3 separate regions of the Homo sapiens genome follow, and regions 2 and 3 are each linked to region 1. Evidence: promoter capture Hi-C in 16 types of primary human blood cells and fetal thymus (Javierre and others, 2016). All regions are on one chromosome and are shown on one strand. The core of a region is centred on a gene start or on the middle of the fragment in contact, and the rest is flanking DNA. Distances in the headings are between cores, read along the strand shown.

Evidence for each region. Contacts are between HindIII fragments. The CHiCAGO score rates a contact against its expected background, and 5 or more counts as called.
Region 2: a contact is called between a fragment that was not itself captured here and the fragment with the promoter of FKBP4 in region 1, in 1 of 17 cell types (naive CD4 T cells). The highest score is 5.7, in naive CD4 T cells.
Region 3: a contact is called between a fragment that was not itself captured here and the fragment with the promoter of FKBP4 in region 1, in 1 of 17 cell types (neutrophils). The highest score is 5.9, in neutrophils.

What each region holds. Positions count from the first base shown.
Region 1 is chr12:2,792,579-2,796,722 of GRCh38, reverse strand. FKBP4 (FKBP prolyl isomerase 4) reads right to left here and starts at 1,753. Exons shown (of 10, transcript NM_002014.4): 1 at 1,479-1,753. The coding sequence starts at 1,583. All of the region lies in intron 2 of ITFG2-AS1 (ITFG2 antisense RNA 1), which reads left to right. RefSeq lists enhancers at 1-290, 1,784-2,328, 2,329-2,874 and silencers at 705-1,114, 1,465-1,524, 1,555-1,934. The HindIII fragment of the contact is 2,886 bases long and covers 274-3,159 here.
Region 2 is chr12:4,642,262-4,646,405 of GRCh38, reverse strand. It overlaps AKAP3 (A-kinase anchoring protein 3), which reads left to right. Exons shown (of 6, transcript NM_001278309.2): 2 at 1,214-1,351. Among named protein-coding and RNA genes, the nearest start is that of AKAP3, 4.7 kb to the left of the region's middle. The HindIII fragment of the contact is 278 bases long and covers 1,975-2,252 here.
Region 3 is chr12:4,542,382-4,546,525 of GRCh38, reverse strand. RAD51AP1 (RAD51 associated protein 1) reads right to left here. Exons shown (of 9, transcript NM_006479.5): 3 at 2,622-2,763; 4 at 108-217. Among named protein-coding and RNA genes, the nearest start is that of RAD51AP1, 5.6 kb to the right of the region's middle. The HindIII fragment of the contact is 4,691 bases long and covers 1-4,144 here.

The DNA.
Region 1 (4,144 bases), core at 504-3,003:
TCTTCCTTCATGCCAGTGGTCGTCAGACTAAGGTCTGGTTTGGAGACAGGAGAGCGAGAGGAGTATGAGTGAAGAGAATAGAAACAGTTCAAAACAGGTAAGGAAGAAACCAGGTTATAGGTGAACCCGGAGGCTCTCCATGGGACCTTAAACTCTGACTTGGGAGCTGAGTATTCCTCTGGTAGTTAGTCCAGGGCTGGAGTATTTCCCAGAAACGTAAAGGCTTCTTTAGCGCCACCTGGTAGGTGTGTGGTTACCCTCCAAGGGAAAGCTTCCACGAAGAATAGACAGGGGCTTTGAGGAGTAGAAAGGTAAAAGGGAAGGAATGATGGATCAAAGGGGAAATGAGCTTTCCTGGAATAACAATCTCGTAGAAAACGGCAGGACGCTGGAGCGAGAAGGGGAAGTCACATGCCACAGGAGAGCCGCTGGAGCAGACGCTTGAGGTCCCCAATAATCTGGTGCAAAGACAGATGCACTTCTGGACCAGGTAAAGGCCCCCTGAGGTGGGTGCCGCACACGCGGAGCTCAGCGGTGGGAAGCCAGGATGAGGACGCAGCAGCGGATGGGGAGAAGGCATAAGACGCAGGCTGGGAATTCACCATCTCTGATTCTCCCTGGAACCTGCTCCGACCCAAGGCAGGTTGTCCTGGCCCAGGTCAAGATGCCCTCCCCGCAGCTCCCCAGGCTATTTGTAGTCGAGCGGTCACTCGGCGGCAGGCTCCACAGCAGAGCGCCTCCTCCCCGCCCCACACCCCGCAGCCCTGGCTCCGGGAGGCGGCGGAGGGGGGAGGGGACTACAGCTCCCGGCATGCCCCGCGCCCGGCCTCCCCGGGGCCGAGGGAGGGGGCGCCGCGCGGCGAGTGGGGACCTCGCTGGGTCCCGGCGTCGGCAGGGGACCCCGGGAGGGCGCCGGAACCCTGTCGCGCCTGCGTCGCACAAAGGCCGAAGGGCCAGGAAAGCACTGTGGGGAGTCGCTCCCCGTCCTGGCCCGTGTTCCACCGCCCGGGTGGGCGAGCCCTGGCACCGCCACCAACGAGGCGGCCCGCGGCTGGCAGCTCCGCTGGGGCCGCGAGGTCGGGGGCGGCGTGGCGTGGGAGGCCCGGCCTGGCCCCGGGCTGCGGCTCGGGTGCCCGCGGCGGTCGCCTCGCCCCGCCCCTCTCCGCCGCCCCGCGCGCGCCGGGGTGGGCACTGCAATCCCGACCCCCTGCCCGGGCCCGGGCGCTGCCGGCTGGGGAGCCTGGGGCCTCGGCCCGCGCACCTAGGCCGCCCCCCTGCCGAGCGCATGGCCGGCCTCGGTGCCTTAAACGACGCAGCCCGGTCCGGGACGGCGATGCCACCGGCCCCCGGCGGGACGGCCGCGAGGCTGCAAAGGCGGCCGCCTCGACCCGTGCCCGGCCGCGGGCTCCGGGCGCGGCGGAAGGGCGGCCCGCGGGGCCCCGGGTTCCGACGCCTCCGCAGGCCCCGCCGCCCCTCACCTTCAGCACGCCTTCGTCCTGTTTGGGGCTGATGTCCACTCCCTCCATGGGCAGCGGCGCCGACTGCGCCCCGCTCTCGGTCGCCTTCATCTCCTCGGCTGTCATCTCCGCGCGGCGCGCCGTTTATCCGGGAGCTGGTGCCGGCGCGAGCGCACTCTGGGCCGCGGGCGGGGGCGCTACCTGCGGGGCGTGCGGGAGGCCGGGCGCGGCGGCACTGACTGCGGACCGCGAGGAGGCTTGAGCACCTCTGCACGCGGCGCGAGAGCTGGGGTAGGTGGGTCAGGAGCGGCTCGGGGAGCGATTGGTCCCGCCCCGCCGCGAGGGAGGGGCTGGGAGGAGCGGGAGCGCAGACAGAGGGGGCGGGGTGCAGAACTTTCTAGAGACGGCGGGACTGAGCCGGTTCGGGCTCAGTGCTGCGGGCGCTTCGGAATTTTTTTTTCTTTTTTTTTTTTTGGTTCTTGCCTCCTTCTGGCTGCCTGCCCCCTCCCCCTTCTCCTGGGACCCTCGGACTCGGGATCTCCCCGGCGGCCTCCCTTGGCCCTTCCTCCCTCCCTCCCATCCCCGCCCGCTTCCCTGTCTAACCGGATTCTTCCAGATTCTTCTCGATCGATCTCCCGACATCACTCCACCAGTCCGCTGCGCCTGCGGCGGGGTGTGGGGAGCGCAGGCTGCGGGATGGCAGTGGCGGCGCCCCCTCCCCGGGACCGGCCGTCACCACGGGCGGCGTGGCCTCTCTGCTATGACCCGCGTAGACCCTTCCCTACTTGGGGGAAAGAGGGCAAGGGCGTGCGCGGGGAGCGGGGAGTGAGTGGACAGCGCTGCCCCGCTGCAGAGAGCCGGGGAAAGCGACCTCGATTTCCCCAGATCCGAGAAGCCCCGGCCAGGCAGCGATGCCTCGCTCAGCGCCTGCAGATGCTGCGAGCAGCGGGGTTGGCAAGGCATGGCCCGCCCAGCTCGGAACTCAGATGGGGCACACACTCAGGGGACCCTTCCCGGCGGTAATAAAACTGCCGTTTCCGCGAATGCTTACAAAGATGGGTTCCCCTCACGAAAAAAGTCACTCGGTTTTCCTAAAGGCCCACAGAAGGAGTATTTTCTTCTCAATGTTTGCTTCCCGAGTGTTTTTCGACAGGCTGTGGAGCGCGCAGGTGCCGGTGTCACCTAAGCTATGGTCGTGGGACCTAGAGAGCCATCTAGAGAGGGGCCTGGTTTTGCTCAGCACCTAACCCCAGTTTAGCATAGTGCCTGGTGAGTGATGTCCCAATAGTTACTGGCTGCATGAATTTTCCTTTTTTAAATTTCTTTTTCCAAGTCTTGGCTGATTTTTTTTTCTTTTTTTTTTTTTTTTGAGACAGGGTCTTGCTCTGTCGCCCAGGCTGCAGTGCGGTGGTGCGATCTTGGCTCTCTGTAGCCGGGACTACAGGCGTCCGCCACCACGCCGACTAATTTTTGTATTTTTAGTAGAGACGGGGTTTCGCCATGTTGCCCAGGCTGGTCTCGAACATCTGGTCTCAAATGATCCGCCCGCCTCGGCCTCCCAAAGTTCTCGGATTACAGGCGTGAGCCACTGCGCCCAGCCTGAATTTTTATTCCAATAATAACTGTATTTTTGGACTTCCCGTTATGTGCCCGGCACTGTGCGATTGGACGCCATTAGTCTCATCAAACTAAATTGAAAGCTTTTTAGAGATGAACTTTCAGCGTCATAATGTGATGATTTATTGTAGTCCCTGCCGACGGAACTTGAAAGGGATGCAGAAGAAAAAGCCCTTCGCTTCAGCAATTTACAGCCCAAATGAGTTGAGCCATAATGAAGACGTCTCTTTAGGTGGCTGGAGACAGCTTCAGAGGATACGGGGCGCTGCCTCTGTAGGGGTTAAATCCACTACTTTTATGCAGAAGTAACAGTGCCAGGGGTCACCCAAACTCCGGGAGACCAGGATGGTGGGTGCTGGCTTCCGGGGTGGCAGTTTACCGCAAACTGTCCTTGGCTTGCACCTACTGATTCTCCACGTGTGGCGGTTTCTTTTCTGCGTCTTTTTCTTCATCGGAAGCGGACAGTGTGGGACCCCCCCTTTAATTCTGTTCGGCACGTACATAGTGGAGCCCTTCAGATTGCCTGCCGTTACATTAACACATAGCCTAATACCCTAGTGGAATGAGCATGTGCTTTGGAGTAAGGGACGTTGGGCGGCCCATGTGTTATGTTAGCTGTTTAAATTGGGGCAGGTTAGTTAATCTTCATGTCTCGATTTCTTGTCTGTAAAATAGAGATAGTAACATTTGTAAAAGAGGGTGATTTAATGGTTAAAAAAGCGGGAATCTGTGTATGGTATCTAGCTCAGTCCTCGCCTCCAACTCCGCAGCTGGTAAATAACGGTCGTTTTAGTGTGATCTGATAGGCGCTGCAGTGGAGATGGGGACAAAGGGCTAAGAAAACAGAGGTCTGTGAGACAGGGAAGGGCAAGAGGGCAAGGTTCCCGGTGAGAAGCTCTGTCCCCACACAGTGAAGGAGGAAACTAGGGGACCACAGGCAGAAACTAGGAGAAACCACAGGAGGAAACTAGGGGTCTTGAATCCTGGAGCAGGAACTTACTGTTTCTCTTAGAATATTTCCTGGTCGTTTATGTGATATTTTTCTGATCATAAAAAGTACATATACTGTA
Region 2 (4,144 bases), core at 864-3,363, 1.8 Mb before region 1:
AGCCACTGTGCCCAGCGATAAATAACTTTTTTGAAGGAACCCTGTGATAAACCAGCCGCTTTTGAATCTGTTGCAATTTTCATCATTATCTCGTGGCCATGCTTGGAATTTCTTTTTGCTCCATGGAAACTATATACTAGTCCTATATTTAATCATTAATTACAGAGTAGCTGAGGTAACATTTTCAGAGAATGTAGTAATAAAGCATAGAAAGAGTAGCTAACCAAATGCCTCTTGGTGTGATTTTTCCCACTACAGTTTCTCAGGTCAGGCATTGCAAATGATAAAATAGGGTTATTGTATCTCTGAAGATCTAAGACAAATTATAACCCAGAGATGGTCAGTTTAGGCAAAATATCCTAAAAATAATTTTTTTACAGAAGGCAAGATGCTTATAAATAAAAAGAGTCCTGGCTGGATCTGACAAAATGAAGTGATTCCATGGGATATGCATAAAATTTAGACCCTCAATTCTTTTATTTCTCATTCTCCTCTGCCGTCCTCTAGATTTGTTAATACATAATACTTACTCTGCTGCTTTAAGTGGAATCCATTGGCAAAATGTCCCCTTCCCGTATTCCCCCACCTATATTAAACACTCTAAAGCAGAGGTCCCCAACCCTCAGGCCATGGACCGGTACCAGTCCATGGTCTTTTAGAACCTGGCCACACAGCAGGTAAATGGTGAGCAAGTGAGCAAAGCTGAGCTCCACCTCCTGTCAGATCAGTGGTGGCATTAGATTCTCATAGGAGCTTGAACCCTATTGTGGAAAGTGTACGTTGTGCACTCCTTATGAGAATCTAGTGCCTGATGATCTGTCGCTGTCTCCCACCATCCCCAGATGAGACCATCTAGTTGCAGGAAGACAGGACTCCCACTGATTCTATATTATGGCATAATAGTAGAAATAGAGTGCACAACAAATGTAATGTGCTTGAATCATCCAGAAACCATACTCCCACCCCACTCCCATCCGTGGAAAAATTGTCTTTCACAAAACTGGTCCCTGGTGTGAAAAAGTTTGGGGACCACTGCTCTAAAGAGAGAATTAATCAGAATAAAGCCCAGTCCTTCTAAACTAAACATCAGCCCCTTGGAGTATATCTTCACCCCTCCTCTTTGTCCTGTTGACCATTCATTTTCTGGTAGCCTCACTACTGTTGCTATAGAGACAGTGATATCACCAATTGTGATTCTGATGTCACTCTCCAGTCCCAGCAAGGGGGAGGTACATGGAAGGCCACAGGAAGAAACAAGATCTTGAGCTGAGCAAGAACATCCCAGCATCTTCATTGACTTTAAAAGTATATTCTGGAGTCTTCCGTGGTTCACTATTCCAGTACTACAGAGGTAGGTAATCTTACTGGACTGATAAAACAGCCCATTTTCTGATCCTCTGTGGTTGGAAGGGAGAATTCAATGACAAGTGATAGGAAAATTGTTATGTTCAACCTAGCGTTGTTCTTCTGTCCAGCTGATTTTTTTTTTGTTTGAGATGGAGTCTCACTCTGTTGCCCAACTGGAGTGCAGTGCTGCAATCTCGGCTCACTGCAACCTCCACCTCCTGGATTCAAGTGATTCCTCTGCCTCAGACTCCCGAGTAGCTGAGATTACAGGCATCCACCATCTCACCTGGCTAATTTTTTGTATTTCTAGTAGAGACAGGTTTTCGCCATGTTGGCCAGGCTGGTCTCAAACTCCTGACCTCAAGTGATCCCCTCCACTTCGGCCTCCCAAAGTAATGGGATTACAGGTGTGAGTCGCCATGCCTGGCCTGCTCAGCCAATTTTAATTTTACCTGTGAGTCCTCTGGAAATAAGTGAACCTCTCCTTCAGCAGCTTTAAAGTCAAACCTACCATCTTTGCTGCTGACATTGTGATTTGGTTACAGATTTGACAAGATCTCCTCAGCTATCCTTTTGGAGACATGAGGGGCCTTACTTCCTGCTTCCCCATTTGATAGAGTAGAAGCTTGACTACCTACTGACTTTTCCTAGTCATTGTGTGGCCATTCCTAAATTTATTTTCTTTCCAGTGCCCCAAGAGCAAAATAGAACTGGTATAACCCCGAGTCCAATTCTCATACACTTTTATCTTCTCACTGTTATTTCTGAAGTCTTGGTTAGACAACAGAACTGGGAAAGGGCAGGATATCTATAGCTATGTGGTGAAAGTATCTATACTAACAGGGACTAGAAGAAGAAGCTCTTACTTAGGGAAGGTAAAAATAAAGACTTTCCACCGGAAAGCTTAACAATGAATGGTGCCATTGAGACACACACACACACAAATCTTTATTTAAAGAAAATCGATTGAAATTCTTATTTAATCAGCAACCAAGTTTATTGAGCTTCTACGATGTAGCAGGCACTTACAGAAAGGAAGGCAGTAAAAGAAAACGGATATGAGAAACATACTGTTCCCTCTCAAAACTAGTAATAAAACCTGGTTGAATGAACCTCAAAACTCGATCAAGTACTTAGCAACCCTGCAAGAACTTTGCTTATGCTTTCGCTTCTGCAATCTGAGTTTTTACATGAGTTTAGGAACCTTGGGTAAACAGGAGCCTCTCACTTAAAATGGATACAGGAGAAAACTGCCTTGAGATAGAGCTATGGTCTAGGATATAACGACCATAACCAAGCCCCTATGTTGCTTATGCCTTTCATGACTGGCATTCAGGTTTGCACTCCTCCTCAACTTGAAGTAATCATCACATTGACATTTTTGAGAAACATTTTAGTCCAATCCTTCTACTTGCCATGGGAAAATTTCACAGCTGCCAGAATGTTATCAGGGCTGGAATATCTAAAGGAATATATCTGCTGATTCTAGTATTTCCTTTCTGAGCCTCAATATCCTAATCTATAAGCTGAGAGTATTAGAAAACATGGTTTCTGAGGTCCATTTATCTTTAATAGATAACACAAAGTATCATTTTCTCTTTTTTTTTTCTACCCTAACTCCAGGATATTATTTACCAGCTTTTAAACTTATAGCAATTTATGAATCCATTCACTGACTTCATTAAACTCTTTAGATCTTCCTTCTTTTCCACTTTTATTATGAGAAACATTGATTTAGAAATCTGAATGTCATTATCATTAATAAGTTTTAAAGTACCTCTTTATAGATGCTGTCATCTAGGACAGACAGGAAGTTTTAAAAGTCCAAAACAAGCTTCATGATGCAGCTAAACCCACTCATAGGACCTAGAAAATAGAATTAAAACATTAGAATATATTTAAGTGAAGTGTTTGCTGAATATATTTGACTAGTAGTTATGCTTTCATGAAAAAAATACAAAAGCACTTTTAAGATGTTGATTTATTTGTACTAGTGGAATAGGAAGGTCTGTTAGTAAATCACTGAGTAAGTCTGTGCGGTGAACGTATCTCCCAAAGGAGTCAAGCTTCAAGGCGTCTTGAATATATGGATTACCGCCATAGTAACCGCCATAGTAAATTTGAGCAAGCCGTCTGTTTTTTTGTCCTTGGATTCTCCAATCCAAAAGGAAAAATGAACTATCTGAAAATGGGCAGGTGGTGCATATTCATTCTTCCAGCAGATAATTATTGAGCTCCAATTTTAAGATACTAGCTACTATAAGGCATACCAAGATGAATAGGAAAATGCCTCTCCCCTTATGAAGTCATCCAGTAAAGAAAATGAAATACATGGGAGCAATTAAACTACTAGATAGAATGTACACATTGAAACAAAATATGATGGAAACTTCAATGAGGGAGCAATCACATTCATTAGGTATCTAGAAAATATTTCATGGATGGGGTAGCCCTTGACCTGGGCTAAAAAGTAAGGGTAGAATTTAGAGAGCCATTACTGGGGGGCTGGGTGGATATTCAAGAAGAGAGTACAGTGCCCTAATGTCTTCCACTGAAATGTCTTAGTAGAACTAAAACAAGGAAGTTAATTAATCTGGAAGATATCTATGAACTCCCTTTATAACTTGAGGGTGTGTATTTCTCTCAAGTCCTCAAAGATGCTTGCAAAGTGTTTTGAGTTCCATAAATTCAGGGTGCTTATTCTTCATTCCAGCTATTTTTCTTCCAACTTCCTATTCAAGCAAATTTAAAATTAAGCTAAAAATTTTTAGGGTCTTCGTTGTTTAAAAAGACTGTA
Region 3 (4,144 bases), core at 990-3,489, 1.7 Mb before region 1:
CAAAGTATTCACATTTTACCTGTTTCCTCTGTGAAGGCCCACCCAAACAAATAATCACAAAAGCATTAAGAAGGTTTTAAAGCTAAATATACAGAAAATAAAGTTACTTTTATCTTGAGAGTTCTGCACATTAGTGGTGACTGTTGGAAGTTCCTTCACTGATAAAGCTAGTGCAACTTCTAAGTCTCTCTGGTAGAGCTTGTCATCTAAAGCCATCCTAAAATAGATACACAAGTAATAATGAGTTCTTCAAAATATCAATCTCAACTAAAGAGCAAAGTTTGAGATTTCTCCAAATTACTATTCAAGAGTTGCTAACTTCGCAAAAATGTTTTTAAACAATCATCATTAATAGACCTTTGATGATAAGATAAGACTCCTAAAATGTCACAGTATCATGTTACATACAGAATAAGAGGTTTGAAATAGGAGGACCATGTGCCTCTTTGCAATGACTGTTCCCTTTCATTGTAATGTGTCACCTTACTACCAGCTGTGTCCAGGTGGGAAACACCCTACTCAACCCAAAACAGACTTGGTTCAAACATCACTTCCACTTAAAACTCTTCCTTGACCTCACCCACTCCCCTTTAGCAGATTTTATAGCTCTTACATTAAATTAAAATTATTATCATTTTTTTACATCTCTTCCTCCCAATCCAGACTTTAACAAATATTTTACCAAGCACTTACTTTGTACAAGGCACTGCACTAGCTGGAATACTAAAAGTACCTTCAGGGAGTCTGCAATTAAAGGAGGAGGGTGGGGAAACAAGACATGCTAATAATTATCCTATAAAAGGCAGACTATAAAGTCCTATTCAAGCTGCTCAAAAGTGCTATGGAGTATAAGAGGAAGAAAACGTCAAAGACAGATAAGGAAAAGTTACATAAAGGAAGAAGCACTGAGATGTACCTTAAAGAATTTATTTTTTTAGAATAACAGTTTTCTTAAGATATAATTCACATATCATAAAGTTTACCTTTTAAAGTAAACAATTCAGCAGTTTTTAGTACATTCACAGAGCTGTAAAACCACCAACACTACCTAATTTCAGAACATCTTTATTACCCCAAAAAGAAACCCCATACCCATTAGCATTCACTTCCTGTTTACCCCTCTCCCCTCCTAGCAACCATTAATCTGCTTTCCGTTTCTATGGATTTGCCTATTCTGGACATTTCATGCAAATGAAATCATGTAATATGTGACCTGTATATCTGGCTTCTTTCACTCAGAATGATGTTTCCAAGGTTCATCCATATTGCAGTATATATCAGTTATCAGTTGTCATTTCTTTCTATGGCTGAAAAATATTCCATTTTGTGGAAACCACATTTTACTTATCCATTCATTAGCAGATAGACATTTAGATTGCCTCCATTTTTTTTTAGCTATTATGAATAATGTTGCTGTGAACATTCATGTATGGGTTTTTGTGTGGGCATATGTTTTCATTTCTCTTGGATACATACATAGGCTGGGTCATGTAATAACTCTGTTTAACATTTTGAGGAACTGCTAAACCATTTTCCAATTTAGCTGCACCATTTTACTTTCCCACCAGCAATATATGAGGGTTCAAATTTCTCCACATTCCTTGTCTTTTGTATTAAGTCATCTAGTGGGTGTGAAGTATTATCTCATTCTGATTTTGATTTGCATTGCCCTCACAGCTAATGATATTGAGCATCTTTTCATGTGTTTATTGGTTATTTGTTTATCTTCTCTGGAGAAAGTCTATTGAAATCTTTTGCACATTTTAAATTGTGTTGTTAGTCTTTTTACTGTTGAGTTTTACGAGTTCTGTGTATACTCTGGATACAGTCCCTTATCAGTTATCTGATTTACAAATATTTTCTCCCACGTGTGGGTTCCTTTTTCTATATATTTAAAATGTAATACAAGAAACTCACAAACAAAAACCAAAAAAAAGAAAAGCAAAAAAGAGCATGACATGAGGTAAGTTTCTCCAGGCTAACTCACTTTTCATAGAGAAACTTGTGGCAGTAAAACATTATATATGCCATGTTCCATTTGTTAATATTCCCCTTCCGCCCATCTCTTCTCCATACTGCAAGTTTTGGGTCTCTAAGGACTTCCTTCACTCCTTTCTGCCTCTTGATACTATCTAATGGAATTCCACGGTTAGTCTAGAAACTATGGGAACTTCTCACTGCTGGATAAATCTTAACAACATGGGGAGAAGACATCTTTTTCTGCAAGAAAATACATGGTTTTATATTTTAAAAACTGTCCTCATATTAAGTCATCTTGTGTCTTAATCATCTTAAGTCATCTAATGTCATTTTTAACAAAGTAGTCTCGTATGATTTGAGGAATTCAGAGATAAGTGCTGGGTCCTGTCAAAACCAGTCATAACTTCTGAATTCTACAATCATTATTGTCTTAATATTTAATGATACTTCCTTGAATGTTTGTGAATTTCTTTAAGTCAGAAAGCCAGAAAAAAATAGTACGTCCTGTTTTCTGACTGCACCTAGTAAAATAAGACCTATGACTCTGCCCAAGTTCTAATTTAAATCAAGGGTTCGAATCTGTGTCTCTTTAAAATTAACACATCTAATGTCATATATTTACTGCATGTCTTACCTCTCACCTTTTTTTAGGGGTTTTCTCTTGTACTGGGATTTCTTCTTTCCGGAGATTGTTCAAGTTAGGTTTTGGTTTATCTTGTTTTAACTCCTTTGGTGCTGTTCTGGATTTCTTGTTTAAAGGTACAGTTGCAGAAACAAAATCATCTATTCATGTGTGAATTAAAACCAAAAGAAAAATATTATTTTCTTCATAAATGAAAATCATTACCATGTGTGTTCAAGTTTTTATAGGCTAGGCAAATTGTTTAATTTCCACAATTTAAAAATCATTGTTAGTATTTTGTTTATCTTTACTCTCATTTATCTATTTCGACTTTTGTTTTTGTGCCCTTTATATTTAAAAATATCAGTCTATCAAAAACCAATTCACTAAAAACTGCAAAAGCAATTAAGACAGCATATAAGTGTCAAAGAAAAAATGATTAAAAACCTGTAAAACCATTAGAAAAATTGGTAGAATTTAATCACATTGAAAAGTGGAAATAAATTATTTTTATGGGAACTTCACAATGTAGCCAAATATCTTTTTTCAAAGCCCATTACTTGGGCCAGGCACAGTGGCTCACACTTGTAATCCCAGCACTTTGGGAGGCCAAGGCGGGCAGATCACCTGAAGTCACGAGTTCAAGACCAGCCTGGCCAAAGTGGTGAAACCCTGTCTCTACTAAAAAATACAAAAATTAGCCAGGCATGGTGGCGGACACCTATAATCCCAGCTACTCAGGAGGTGAGGTGGGAGAATCGCTTGAACCTGGGAGGCAGAGGTTGCAGTGAGCCAAGATCGCGCTGTTGCACTCTAGCCTAGGTGCAAGAGTGAGACTCCGTCTCAAAAAAAAGAGAAAAAAAAGCCCATTACCTATTCCTAGTACATTAACCATGCTAGAGGAAATAAGCATTATGGGGGGAAGAGAAAGTAGCTCCTATTTGAGGATTTTTACAATAGTAGTATTTTCTCTTTCCATTACCATAATGATCTTCCTAAGATCCTACCAAAGTAACTTCTTATTTTCTTGCAAAAGGATGTTCTTTTCCAGTCCATTACTGTTTCTCACAGGTTTTTCTGTCTTACCAATCCTCTGAACTGTTGTAGTTCTACTCTTGACTGTCAACGTAAAACTACTGCTGTGGCTTTTCCACATGTATACAACACATATATGCATACTTTCAGGGTCTATGCAGTCTTCATCACATACTCAGCAAGCACTAATACTTGTTGTCTCTTATATGCTTCCCCATGTAAAAATAAGATAACTTAGGACTCCCCCCACCTACTACTACACACCTGGCAATTTATAAGTATCTGATGACAGACTGATGACAAAAAAAAAAAAAAAGCTAGATGTTATACTCTACACTCTTTTTCCCAAGTGGTAGATACAGTTAAGGCTGTGCTCAAGGCAAAAACAGATTCCTTCAAACCGAAGACTTACTAAATATTTGACTTACAGAAAACTCTAGTGGTCTAAGAAAGAAATATTAAATCCACTTCAACATATAACATAATCTAATGCAATGTTCCTCAAAC